Regions from separate parts of the Homo sapiens genome. Here region 1 is linked to region 2. The links are contacts of gene promoters, found by promoter capture Hi-C in blood cells and fetal thymus (Javierre and others, 2016). All regions are on one chromosome and are shown on one strand. The core of a region is centred on a gene start or on the middle of the fragment in contact, and the rest is flanking DNA. Distances in the headings are between cores, read along the strand shown. Region 1 has its middle 15 kb from the start of LINC01993. Region 2 holds the start of SOCS3 (suppressor of cytokine signaling 3).

Region 1 (6,458 bases), core at 3,445-5,944, 65 kb before region 2:
TGTGTGTTGAGTGTGAGTGTGTGAATGAGTGTGTGTGTGTTTTGTGTGTGAGTGCGAGTGTGTTTGTGTGTTGAGTGTAAGTGTGAATGAGTGTGTGTGTTGTGTGTGTAAGTGCGAGTGTAAGTGTGTGTGAGAGAGAGTGTGTGTGTCCTACCTGGGCATGCACGGGTGGGTGTGGGCAGTGACCTGAGCCCTGCACGTACTGCCAGGTGGCCCGGCTTGCCAAAGGTGGGGAAGGGTTATTTACCCAAAGTGGGAGAGACCTGCAGGCTGGGCGGCAGCGGCAGGAAGAACAGCGAGCGAGGCCACAGTGGCATCCATGGAAGATGTTATTTGGGGCCTTTTCCGTGCCTGCTACTGTTCTTCGCATCCTGCGTGTATCACGAGAAGCAATCCTATCAAAGGAGGACCTATGAATACAATATCCACTTTACAGAGGAAGAAACTGAGGCTCAGAGAGGCTGAGTCACTTCCAGAGCTGAGATTTGAACCCAGGGAGTGGGGGCTGGGGCCTGGGCTCCACAGCACAAAGGAGCCCTGCCTGCTGGGACAAGGAGCTGCCTTGTGGTATGGCCAGTGTGCCCAAGCCAGCCTTTGGAGCCCGCTGGGCTGGCTCTGGGTTCCAGCTCTGCCGCCTGCCTGCTGAGTGTCCTTGGGAAAGTCCCTCCACCTCCCTGAGCCCCGCTTTCTCCTCTGTAAGATGGGACTAATGACACCTATTTCTCTGGTTGTTTAGAGGTTTAATGGTTCACTGTATGCAGAGGGAGGCAGACTTCAGGGCCTCCTCAGGAGCCTTGGCATGCGGCCACAGGGCCTTTGTATGTACTGTGTGTGCGCCTAAGATGCCCATTAGAAAGATAAGATGCCACCTCACTGCGGACTCCCCTTAATCTCCCTGCTGCAGGGCCAGCTCCAGGGGTGTGTGACCTATGGAGGTGCACTGGTCCCCATGCTCAGAGCACGCTGTGCTGGGTTTAATGATCTCCGTCACCATTTCGAAATTCTTAGTGATTTTTTAACAAGGAGCCCTGCATCTTCATTTTGCACTGGGCCCTGCCAGTGTCACAGCTGGGCCTGCCCTGCAGTTTCTTTTTCTTTCTTTCTTTTTTTTTTGAGATGGAGTCTCGCTTTTGTTGCCCAGGCTGGAGTGCAATGGCATGATCTTGGCTCACTGCAGCCTCCATCTCCTGGGCTCAAGTGATTCTCCTGCCTCAGCCTCCCAAGTAGCTGGGATTACAGGCGCCCACCACCACGCCCAGCTAATTTTTGTATTTTTAGTAGAGATGGGGTTTCACCATGTTGGCCAGGCTGGTCTCAAACTCCTGACCTCAGGTGATCCGCCCACCTCAGCCTCCCAAAGTGCAGGGATTACAGGCGTGAGCCATGGTGCCCGGCTGCCCTGCAGTTTCTCCTCCTGCGCCGTGCCCCGCATGATCTGCCCCCAGCGAGGAAGGAGACTGAAGAGCAGCAGGGAGGGTCCCTGGAGACAGAGCGGGCAGAGTGGGCTCGACGCACCCCTGACACCCATCAGCAGGCGCCTTCCTCAATGCGGACAGGCAGACCCTCCTCTCTTGGGCACACACTCAGTCAGCCCCTGGGTCAGTTGCTCCTCCTAAAATGGGACTGACAGTTGAAGACCTCCAAGCTTCCCAGTCATAGCAGTGGCCCCTCTCAGCCCACACCCAGTCCACTCTGGATTGCTAGTGGGGATCCCCCGAGACAGGGTTCTCCCCCAGGCTGGTCAGCCCCACATCTGTGAAGCTTTCTGGGCCTCTCCACACCCCCAGTTCTCTGAGGCAGGCGGGGTCTCCAGGGCAAACTCGTGTGAGCCTCACCTGTGTGTTGCACCGTCCTGTCTGCAAACAGAAACCCTCACGCTGCCGAGCCGATGCCTCTGTCCCCAGCACCTCCTTGGGGACGGTGGACTCCATGGTCAAAGGGCCAACTCAGGGGAGCCACAGTATCTGTGCTTCAGGCAGCCCGAGTTGAGGACGTGTGGCATTCTGCTGGCATCGTTCATGCCTCACTCTTGGCTCTGGGGCTGGGCACTTGCTTTCTGGCCCAGCCTGCCGCCAGGGTGAATGGCCTCTGGGGCAGATGGCGTTCTGGGAACAGGTAATGTCCTGGCCAGCGGGCAGGCCGGAGCTGGAGCCTGGGTGGAGGGCTCCCCAAGGACCACCCTGGGTCCCACTCGGCTTTCCCTGCGTGGGGGCGACACTGTTGCCAGTTACAGACCGCCCAAGAGTGCCCCGAGATCTAAGCATAGGACACAACAGGGGCTGGTCTCATCCACCTCGGATCCACCCACCTGCAGCCCAGTCCGGCTGTGTCCCTCAGGTCACACTCACTGTGTTTTGAGAACTCTCCTCCGGGCCTACAAAGTTTGCCAAGGCGAATGTCAAAGGGATATGGGGGCAACAGCTCCCAAGATCAGCCCTAATCCACCCTCCTCATCTGCCCTCTCCATGGGGCCTCACTCCATGTCTCCAACATCTCAGGTTGGTGTCCAAGCCACGGCCTCACATGGACTCACCTCCTGCTTCAGTCTCTGTTTCTGACCAGGCTTCTTGCTCCCAGGGAGGAGCGAGCTTGGACCGCTGCTCTCAGAAGGGACCCTCCTAGCTGGACCTGCCCCTGATTTGGCCGGGTGCCCTGGGCTCTGTGCCCATCTCCACCAACCTCCCAGAAGCGAGAGCTGGATACCTGCCTCTCTGTGTCCAGCTTCCTTCCTTCCTTCCTCAACAATCAGTTATTAAACACCCAGGATACAGATGCACGGTGCTGCTGCAGCTGTCCTCCAGGCTGCCTTTTTTTTTTTTTTTTTTTTTTTGAGACAAAGTCTCACTCTGTCGCTCAGGCTGGAGTGCAGTGGCACGATCACAGCTCACTACAACCTCAACCTTCTGGGCTCAGGTGATCCTCCTACCTCAACCTCCCAACTAACTGGGACCACAGGTGCATGCCACCATGCCTGGCTTGTATTTTGTGTAGAGATGAAGTTTTGCCATGTTGCCGAGGCTGATCTCGAACTCCTGGGCTCAAGTGATCCACCCACCTCGGCCTCCCAAAGTGCTGGGATTTCAGGCGTGAGCCACCGTGACTGGCCCCATGCTCTTGGCTTCTAATCATAGACTTTGGGGCTCATTCAGATCACCTCTCATAGTGAACTTTTGTCACTTTCTTCTCCACCATCCACTTTACCCCAGGGATGAGCCTTCATTGGTCTAAGCCAGTCTGACTCTCTCACCCCCTTGGTTATAACGATATAGGATACATGTCCCAACCCGGGTCAGATGGCCCTATAAATAGGTTTCAGTTGCTTTACCTACAAGTAGTTCCTTTTTTTTTTGAGATGGAGTCTTGCTTTGTCACCCAGGCTGGAGTGCAGTGGCACGACCTTGGCTCACTGCAACCTCCGCCTCCCAGGTTCAAGTGATTCTCCAGCCTCAGCCTCCCAAGTAGCTGCAATTACAGGCGCACACCACCACGCCCAGCTAATTTTTTTTTTTTTTTTTTGAGACGGAGTCTGGCTCTGTCCCCCAGGCTGGAGTGCAGTGGCACAATCTCGGCTCACTGCAAGCTCCACCTCCCGGGTTCACGCCATTCTCCAGCCTCAGCCTCCCGAGTAGCTGGGACTACAGGCGCCCGCCACCACGCCTGGCTAATTTTTTAGTATTTTTAGTAGAGATGGGGTTTCACCATGTTGGCCAGGATGGTCTCGATCTCCTGAGCTCGTGATCTGCCCTCCTCGGCCTCCCAAAGTGCTGGGATTACAGGCGTGAGCCACCGTGCCCGGCCTACACCCAGCTAATTTTTGTATTTTTAGTAGAGATGGGGTTTCACCATGTTGGCCAGGCTGGTCTTGAACCCCTGACCTCCGCTGATCCACCCACCTAGGCCTGCCAATGTGCTGTGATTACGGGCGTGAGCCACTGCACCCGGCCAAGTAGTTCCCTTTCTGTTGCATTGGGACCTAGAGGCACATGGCCTGGGCCTGCCCAAGGGTGTCTTGTGACCATGAGGGAGAGTCTGCAGAGGACAGGGCCCCTCCCCGTGCAGGAGGGCCTGGCTAGTTGAGTGAGTCTCTGATGAGGCAGTGCCTCCGAGGGTCAGTCATGCTCAAACTCAGTGTGCCCCAAGTCCTGACCCCTGGTATTCTGGGCTATCACTGCCCAGGAAAACAGCACTCCAAACCCTGGCCTTCAGGCCTGTTCCTTTATGCTTATCGCTGGAATCCCTGGTCCAGAGGGTCTTCAAATCCACACAAGCCCCTCCTGCTTGGCCCTAACCCGATGGGTTAAGCGTTTCAAGGGAGGGCTTGAGAGGTCCCCAGGACATGCCTGGAGGGCCAATAAATGACCGTGAACGGTGGTGAGTGAGGCAGGTGGAGAGTGTGACCATGAAGAGCAGGGCAGACTCCCCAGAGTACTGTAGGGAGGCAGCTGCAGTCTGGATGAAGAGTACACGCCAAGGCCAATTGTGGTTGCTGGTGGGATGCAGCTGGGAAAGCGAGAGTGAGGACCCCAGACCCTGGCGGCTGCAATGCCTGGGGGCATGTGACATGGTGGTGAAGGGGGAATTGTGTGTTGATCCTACCCTGGCCGCAAGTCCAGGCTCACAGGCCATGGCCACTGACCACAGGAAGAGGCCTCCCTCCTTAAAGTCGGGAGAATATCCCAGAACTAAGGCTAGTCCTGCATCCTGGCCGGGAATCCCAGGCCAACACCCTCCCCGCGATCTTAGGTGCTTAGCAGCCCTGGCTGGTGACCCCTGGGCGGAGAGAGTACGGTAATTTGCAAGAAATCCAAGAAAGCCCTGGTGAGTGGTTGCTTTTCCTATGTTGCAACCATCCGCGAAGTGAATGCTGCTCTGTGTCTCTATTGTTGTTTTGATGGTGTTCGAGATGATGAGGAGAACCTGAGTCACAGCCTTTACGAGTCTGATTTCCTCAATTTACAGGAGCTGCCTACGCGTTCTGGAAGAATTCACATGCTGATTTGTAGGCGGCCTGGCCAGGTGCTTCGGAGACTCCAGCAGCATCGAAGGTGTGATTTTAGATCTGTACTCCCGAGGCTCTTGTGTTATTTAAGAAGGTCAGTGTGAGGCCGGGCGCGGTGGCTCACACCTGTAATCCCAGCACTTTGGGAGGCCGAGGCGGGCGGATCACGAGGTCAGGAGATCGAGACCATCCTGGCTAACACAGTGTAAACCCCGTCTCAACCAAAAATACAAAAAATTAGCCGGCGTGGTGGTGGGCACCTGTAGTCCCAGCTACTCGGGAGGCTGAGGCAAGAGAATGGCGTGAACCCAGGAGGCGGAGGTTGCAGTGAGCCGAGATCACGCCACTGCACTCCAGCCTGGGCAACATAGCAAGACTCCGTCTCAAAAAAAAAGAAAAAAAGGTCAGTGTGGTTAAATGCATAAGAAGTAATCAGTGTGTTAAATGTATGAGTTAATTGAGCATAGCCCAAGTGAAAGTGATTGTGTTTTCATATTAAAATTAGATTTATAAAGAGAATGCTAAAACTTGTTGGATTTTGGAATGCAAGGTCTAAGTAAAGGTAGGTTTTAATATTGACAACTTTTACACTTGATATATTGACTCTTTTTTTTTTTGAGACTAGACTCTGTTGCCCAGGCTGGAGTGCAGTGCTGTAATCATGGCTCACTGCAGCCTCAACCTCCCAGGCTCAAGCAATCCTCCTACCTCAGTCTCTCAAAGTGCTTAGACTACAGGTGCATGCCACCATGCCCGACTAATTTTTTAAAAAAAATTTTTAGCGAGATGACTTAGTGAGAGGTCTCACTAAATTGTCCAGGCTAATCTCAAACTCCTGGGCTCAAGCAATCCTCCCACCTCAGCCTCCCAAGTAGCTGGGACTACAGGCACGCACCACCACACCCAGATAATTTTCAATTCTTTTTTTTGTCGATAGGGTCTTACTATTTTGTCCAGGCTGGTCTCAAACTCCTGGGCTCCAGCAATCCTCCCACCTCGGCCTCCCAAAGTGCTGGGATTACAGGTATGAGCCACCGTGGCCAGCCTTGACTCAATTCAAATTCAAGTCACTAAGTCTTCCTTGGAAAGCACAAAACCTCCCCCAGGCATTAAAATATTCAAGTGACACAGAAAAGGGAGAGGTGAAGAGGAGCTACCACCTGGAGGAGAAGGTGGGCTCTGAGCCGGGCCTGGAGCCAGGCAGGGAGGTCTTCTTAGCACCCAGCAAGCTGCACCACCCAAGCACTGCCCTCTGCCACCCCACCTCTGCTGGCATGGAAACCTCCCTCTGGGGGTCCCTCTGGCTTCTTGGGTGGAGCCTCTTTTTTTGAGACAGTCTCACTCTGTTGCCCAGGCTGGAGTGCAGGGGCACAATCTCGCCTCACCGCAACCTCTGCCTCCCGACTTCAAGCGATTCTCCTGCCTCAGTCTCTTCGCATAGCTGAGATTACAGGCACCT
Region 2 (7,103 bases), core at 4,604-7,103:
TACTCAAGAGGCTGAGGTGGGAGGATCGCTTGTATTCTGGCAGTTGAGGCTGCAGTGAGTTGTGATCCTGCCACTGCACTCCAGCCTGGGTGACAGAGCTAGACCCTATCTGAAAAAAAAAAAAAAAAAAAGAAGAAGAAGAAGAAGTGGAAAGACAGAGGAAGGTTGGGATGGGCAGTGGTCTGGAGGAGGGAAATGAGTCTTCTTGCCTTTGCAACTCCACAAAACCAAGTTTCAACCTCCCTGGGGTGGGCAGGGAGAACTACTTCCTCCCTGGCCAGAGAAGATCAAATTCTTTTGCTAGCATTCTGTGAACACTGGACAACCTGGCTAAACAGCTGCCTTCTGGGTCAAGCACAGGGACCCAGTGGCTGGGCACAGTGGCTCATGCCTGTAATCCCAGCACTTTGGGAGGCTGAGGCTGGCAGATTGCTTGAGTTCAGGAGTTCGAGACCAGCCTGGGCAACATGGCGAGACCCTGTCTCTACGAAATATACAAAAAAAAAATTAAAAATTAAAAATAACTGGCCGTGGTGATAATGTGCCTGTAGTCCCAGCTACTCAGGAGGCTGACGTGGGAGGATTACCCAGACGTGGGAGGTTTACCCAAACCCGGGAGTTCAAACCTGCAGTGAGCTATAATAGCGCCACTGCACTCCAACCTGGGTGACAGAGTGAGACCCTGTCTCAAAAAACAAAAAAGTACAAGGACCCCAGGTTCACGGTTCCCTCATGGCTGTTATTCCAGTGAAAGGGGAACTCTGTGCAGCTGAAGGCAGTGGTGGCTGACCAGCAGACCCCAGGGCGAGGAAGACTCATCATCCTTCTGGAAGGCACTGGGGAGCCACACCCCACTGGGCCCCCTCACCTGCACTTGTGCTTTGGGAAGGTGGCCCTACCTGGGTTTACATTGCCAGTCTGGAGTTCCTTCATGATGCCTGTGGTGTGGCTCCCATATGCTCTGTCCCCTCAGCCGCCTCGTGCCTGGCCTGGCCCCTTCTCGTCACTTCAGGTCATTTTCTCCAAAAGTCCCAGGAAATAGGAAAGAAAAACGACTTTGTTTATTTACTCTCTGTTGCCTTTTGGACCCCGATTCCTGGAGCAGTATATTGGGTGCAAGGGGGCCAGGAAGAGGCTCTGGTATTTGTGTCATCTGAGAGAGATAAGGGCCCCTGACTTGGGGTTAACACTCATTTCCCAGCTGTCAGGTCACGGGGATCAGAGAAGGAGGCATGAAAGGAGAATACCTCAGAGAAGGTGGTTTTGTTTTTGTTTTTGGTTTCTGTTTTTTAAATGGAGACAGGGTCTCGCTATATTGCCCAGGCTGGTCTTGAACTTCTGGGCTCCAGCCCTTAGCCCACCTCGACCTCCCAAAGTGCTGGATTACAGGAGAGAAGACGTTTTTTGCTATTAGAAGAACCCTAGTGCTGAAACCCCAGAGTTGGGGGGAAGGGTACTAACCTCTTGGCTTTTAAGGAGGGACTCACTCCGGGGGCAGGTATATGCTGAGTGTATAGAGAGGCAGAGAGGCATGGGCTTTGGAAATCAAATGCTCCTGGGTTCCAATCCTGTTTTCCCCATATTCCCAAGTGGTGTGCCCTTGGCCAGGTTGCTTAACCTCCCTGAACCTGAGTTGCTGCCCCTACTTAGTTGACAAATATTTACTGAGCACCAATCTAGGCACCAGAAGTGACCAGTCCAAGTCCTGGCTCACATGGGGCACGTGGCCATGTCTGAGAACATGGGGATGAGAATGCCTGCCTTGTGGGAGCAGGTGGGATGCTTAATCCAGGTAACCTCTAAGTGCCCCTTAGTGTTTAAATGAGAGTGACTAAAAATAGATGGGCTGAGGGGAGGATACCTTCAGCCCGGGAGCTGGAGACCAGCCTGGGCAACATAGCGAACCCTGTTTCAAAAAAAGAGAGAGATGAATAGATGGGTGCTTTTTGGGAGGAGGGTGATCCTGTCCGCTGCTCAGGTTGGGGCCCCTAGGAACGGGGAAGGGAAGCAGGCATGGGGAGCAGTGGCCAGGAAGCCCCTGAATGCCTGGGGTCCTGTGGTGGGGGAGGGGGTGGGGCTCCACCTGCATGCAAGATTTGCTTCAGGACCACCCCTCCCCCCACTTCCAGTGAACCTGGCTAGACTGAGGTCATAGGTCACCACTAGGACCCCATGTCTGGGCTTTCTCGGAACGACTCCCTGCCAAGGAACCAGAGCGCCTCTAATAGCCTGGAGCCTCTAAAAGCTTTGACCACAGCTCAGCTTGCTCCCTGCAAGCCCTTTGAAGCGCTTCCTTCGAACTTGCTTTGCATATTCTGGTCAGATCTGAATCAGACTTGCAGGAATTACCCCTCTCGGTAAGTCTAGGTGGCTGCCTTAGCTTGTCAGTGACACACGAGGCAGGCGTGCTGACGTAAGGCTGAGACGTATTCGATTCCACCCTCTGCGGCTCTCTTCCTCCTCTCCGATGCAGAGTGTGGGTGTGGGTGAAAGAGAAAGCAAGGCACGGGGCGGGGGGCGGGGGGGCAGGGGTGCAGAAAAGGCTCAAGTCATGTTTTTCATTAAAAAATAGTGCTCTTTATTATAAATTACTGAAATGTTTCTTTTCTGAATATAAATATAAATATGTGCAAAGTTTGACTTGGATTGGGATTTTGTTGAGTTCTTCAAGCATCTCCTAATAGCCTCAAGGGCCTGAGTAGGGGGGAGGAGAGAGGACTGGAGGTGGAATCTTTATAAAAGACAGAGTGATTGAGGCAGATTGTAAACATTATTAAAAAACAAGAAACAAACAAAAAAATAGAGAAAAAAACCACCCCAACACACAACTGCCCTGTCCAGCCCAATACCTGACACAGAATACTTTGTGTTTGTTTAGTTGCCCCCCCCCACAAAAACAAAAACAAAAACAAAAACAAAAAACTGTTCCAGGTAATTCCATCGCTGCTACATTCCTGTAAATTGTCACTGATCAGTGCTATGGCAGAGCGGGAGCACCCGGGGTGGCAGCAGTCCAGCCTCTCCAATGACCTCCAGCCTCCCCCACCCAGGCAGGAGGGAGGGCTGTGCAGGGCTCGGGGCAGTGGGACCTGGTGGCTCTGCTCTGACCACGAGGCGCCTGACTGGCCAATACTTACTGGGCTGACATTCCCAGTGCTCAGCTGGGAGGCATGGGTTTCCGCCCCCCCTCCCCACTTCCCTGGCTGTGGGCTGGCTTGGTGCCCTCCAGTGAGTCCCTCAGCCTCTCCACCCATCCAGGCTGAGTATGTGGCTTTCCTATGCTGGGTCCCTCTCCATGGGACAGGGAGCATTTAAGGCGAATCTCTTAGCCAGACATAGTCAGGAGGCACAGAGTAGAATCCCCTGTCTTCTCTACCAGGAGCCTGAGGTGAAAGATGTCCCGTCTCCTCCATCCTCCCGCTCCATCCACCCAGGTACAGGAAGGTATAGTATGAGTAGGAAAAGGAGACCAGCTGACCAGCCCATCCATCCCCTCCAAATGTTGCTTCCCCCTTAAAACGGAGGAAGGGCCCTGGGCTCTCAGGCACCAGGTAGACTTTGGAACCTGTGTTTTCGGTGACTGTCCCGGAGGAGAGGATGTGGGGTACCAGGATGGTTCCCTTCAGGTCACCCCAAGCCCTTCTCCCCGGAGCCAGGGAGAGGAGCATGTCACCAGGATCCTCGCCTGGGGTGGGCGGGGGGTGTGACCATTTCCTTCGCCAGCCCGCAGCCCTGGGGCCCTCAGGACCTCTCTCTCTTCCACCTTTCCCAGGCTCCACAACCAGCTCAGGTTTAAACCAAATCAAAGAGCAAACAAGTTCCGTTGGAAAGTTTGAAGATTCCCTGGCAGTTCTCATTAGTTCAGCATTCCCGAAGTGTCCCCTGTTTGGAGGCAGAGGGGAAGCTGAGGAATTGAAGGAGAATCCACTTGTGGTTGCTATCGTCCCACCAGGACAGCTGGCTCCTCCGGAGAAGCTGGAGACTCAGGTGGTACTCCCCCTTCCCTCCAACACATTCCAGGTCCGCCTGCCACATTCTGCAGGGAGAGGGCAGAGGGAGGGGCCTGTCCGCCCTCTTTCCCCCCAGAGCTACAGGACTCTCTCCTGGTTGGCTTCTTGTGCTTGTGCCATGTGCCACGGAGGAGAGGGGCCTGCGTCCCCTCTCCCGACCCATGCCCTTTGCGCCCTTTACCCCTTAAAGCGGGGCATCGTACTGGTCCAGGAACTCCCGAATGGGCCCCGGCAGCTGGGTGACTTTCTCATAGGAGTCCAGGTGGCCGTTGACGGTCTTCCGACAGAGATGCTGAAGAGTGGCCACGTTGGAGGAGAGGGGCCGGCTCAACACCAGGGGGATCTTCTCGCCCCCGGAGTAGATGTAATAGGCTCTTCTGGGGGGACTCCCAGGGAGTGGCTGGGCAGACGGCTGCTCGGGCACCTCGGAGGAGGGTTCAGTAGGTGGCGAGGGGAAGGAGGGGGCTCCAGGGGGCGGCATGTAGTGGTGCACCAGCTTGAGCACGCAGTCGAAGCGGGGCACGGGCTGCGTGCTCCGGGGATCGCTCTGCAGAGAGAAGCTGCCCCCCTCACACTGGATGCGCAGGTTCTTGGTCCCAGACTGGGTCTTGACGCTGAGCGTGAAGAAGTGGCGCTGGTCCGAGCTGTCGCGGATCAGAAAGGTGCCGGCGGGCTCGGCACTGAGCAGCAGGTTCGCCTCGCCGCCGGTCACTGCGCTCCAGTAGAAGCCGCTCTCCTGCAGCTTGCGCACTGCGTTCACCACCAGCTGGTACTCGCTCTTGGAGCTGAAGGTCTTGAGGCGCAGGCTGGTGTCCAGGGGGCGGCTCATCCCGGCGGCGGGAAACTTGCTGTGGGTGACCATGGCGCACGGAGCCAGCGTGGATCTGCGCGGCGGCGGCTGCAGCTGCTTCGCGGCCTCCGCACAGCGGCCGCTACCGCATCCCGGGGGGCTGCGGAGAGGAAGGCGCGAGCGCGTTGAGTGCCCGGAACCCTCCAGCGCGCCCGGCCCGCCCCGGCTCCCCTGCCTTCGCCGAGCGACTGGGGCACCCACTGCCCCGGGGGCCCTCTCCTGGGCCCGCGCTCCGATCCAGGCGCCTCACGGAGCCCGCACGGCTCCCGCCCCTGCCGGCAGGGTGGCCCCGGGCAGCCCCTTCCCAGGCGCGCACTGCAAGGGCGCAGCGTGGGAAACTCGCGCGCGGAAGTTAGGTCTCCAGGAGTGTGGCCGGGTGGGGAGCAGGAGAAGGGCCCCCGGGACTGCCTGGGCGCCGCTCAGTCCAGTAGCCCCGGGCGGTGTGGACGGAGGGAGAAACCCGAGGCACGGGGGTAGGGAGGGGACAGGAGAAGCCCGAAGGCCCCAGCCGGAGTATTCCGGGAACCTGGGATCTCCGGCTTCCATCCGCTCTGCCCCTACCTCGTCACCTCCCTGCCGGGAATGACCCGGGAAGGGGAGGGGAAACCGGGAAAAGCTCCCGGGACTGAGCGAGACCCCTCCCCACGCCGCGCTCCTCCTTCCTACCTGGTCCCGAATCGAAGTCTCCGTCCTTGGGGCTGAGCCCCCTCGGGTCCCCAAGGCGACGCGGCGGCGAGACGGCCAGCGGTGGCCCGCGCTGCGCCCAGATGTTGGCGGCCGTGAAGTCCACAAAGGAGCCTTCGCGCGCGCGTCCCTCGAGCTTCCCCTGGGCGCCCGCCCTGCCCCCTGCGCACCCCCGGACCAACCGGGAGGGGACCAGGAGAGGGACCGCGGCAAGGGGCCGCGGCGGGAGCTGGGCCGGGCGGGCGGCTGGCGGCTGGCTGCGTGCGGGGCCGAAGCGGCAGCAGCGGAGCAGGGAGTCCAAGTCGGAGCCGCCGCGGAGGCCGCGCTCGCGGGTATATAGGCGGCCGCCGCGCCCCGCCCCCCGATTCCTGGAACTGCGCGGCCGGCCTTCTTGTAATGTTTAGTCACTACTCGCAGCAGAGAAAGGCTGAGCGCGGAGGGTGAGGGAGGGGCCGCGGGCGCCGAGGGCGGGCCGCGAGCAGGGGCAGGGACCGGGAGGGACGCGCGCGGAGACAAAGCGCGACGAGAGGCGGCCGAGGCGGCCGGTGGGCGCGGCGCCAGCCCCGGCGGCGCGTTCCTGGCAGCGGCCCCTCCCCGCCGCGCGCTCCGCCCCCAACTTCTCATTCACACTTTCCCCCCACCCCCCTCCCTTCTAAGAAGGCTGATTTCTGGCAGAGGCGGGGGCGCCGCTTCGGGAGAGCGGGCAGTTCTAGGAGGCCGACCTGGAGAGCCTCCCGGTTCCCCTTCCCCTTTTCCCGGACCCCGCGGGGACACCCCCTCGCCGCCACCCGGGCCTCCCCGAGGGCCCAACTGCGGGTCAGGCGGCCCGGGCCAGCCGAAAGGGAAGTGGGGCTACCCCACAGCCAGGCAGCGGGGCTGGGGTCAGACCCGGGAGCCGGAGGTTGGAGACGTGCGACAGTCACCTGCGGGCAGATTCCAGAGGGGAGACCCAGGGCTGCAGGGGACGCCCCTTCGTGGCAGCTACCCAGCCTCGGCCCACTGCCAGGTTCTTTGCCAACCCTGACGCGAGTGTGGAGCCCCCCTCCCCTCCCCTATGAAAACGCTTTCATGCACTGGGGTCTGCAAACCTGGTTGGTCCGGTGTGGGTTGGGCCAGGTGCTCTCGGCCGGGCTGGAGAGCTCGAGGTGGAACGATGGCCCCAACCTACGGCCCGCGTCCGCCAGAGGGCGCCCTGGGGTCTCCTAGGGGAGGGCAGTTTGGTGCTGCGCGGCCCAGGCCTTGGAATAGGCACGCCAGGGATCTGCGGGAATGGCTGTCTCCGGAGCTGGAAAGGTGGCCGAGAAGGGGGCATTCACACCCCAGGCTGGGGTCAGACCTGGGAATAAAATTCTAGCAGGAGAGAATTTCCGGAAAGCAGTTTTCCGGGGTTCAGGCTACTGCCAGATGGCCCACACCCCCTGGAATGTGACCCCCTGCCTCTCTTGGGGTGGGGGAGGACTTGATCACTGGCGGGGAGGGGGTAGAGGGGAGGAGAGGAAGTGATTGAGGTGAAAGATTGGTTTGCTGCTGGTCACGTTGGCACTGACGTAGATAGTTTG

What was found. The method cuts DNA at HindIII sites, captures the fragments that hold promoters and counts their contacts. A CHiCAGO score of 5 or more calls a contact.
Region 1: a fragment that was not itself captured here is called in contact with the fragment with the promoter of SOCS3 in region 2 in 12 of 17 cell types (activated CD4 T cells, naive CD4 T cells, endothelial precursors and 9 more); the score reaches 10.5 in activated CD4 T cells.

What each region holds. Positions count from the first base shown.
Region 1 is chr17:78,290,076-78,296,533 of GRCh38, forward strand. No RefSeq gene overlaps it. Among named protein-coding and RNA genes, the nearest start is that of LINC01993, 15 kb to the left of the region's middle. RefSeq lists a silencer at 1,656-1,925. The HindIII fragment of the contact is 5,870 bases long and covers 1,760-6,458 here.
Region 2 is chr17:78,354,224-78,361,326 of GRCh38, forward strand. SOCS3 (suppressor of cytokine signaling 3) reads right to left here and starts at 5,854. Exons shown (of 2, transcript NM_003955.5): 1 at 5,527-5,854; 2 at 2,555-4,960. The coding sequence starts at 4,872. The coding sequence ends at 4,195. It overlaps SOCS3-DT (SOCS3 divergent transcript), which reads left to right and starts at 6,225. Exons shown (of 5, transcript NR_110847.1): 1 at 6,225-6,550. RefSeq lists enhancers at 357-858, 1,182-1,231, 2,057-2,556, 2,614-3,263, 5,210-5,858 and silencers at 4,966-5,205, 5,616-5,895, 5,906-6,215, 6,276-6,475, 6,706-6,755 and 1 more. The HindIII fragment of the contact is 6,903 bases long and covers 2,244-7,103 here.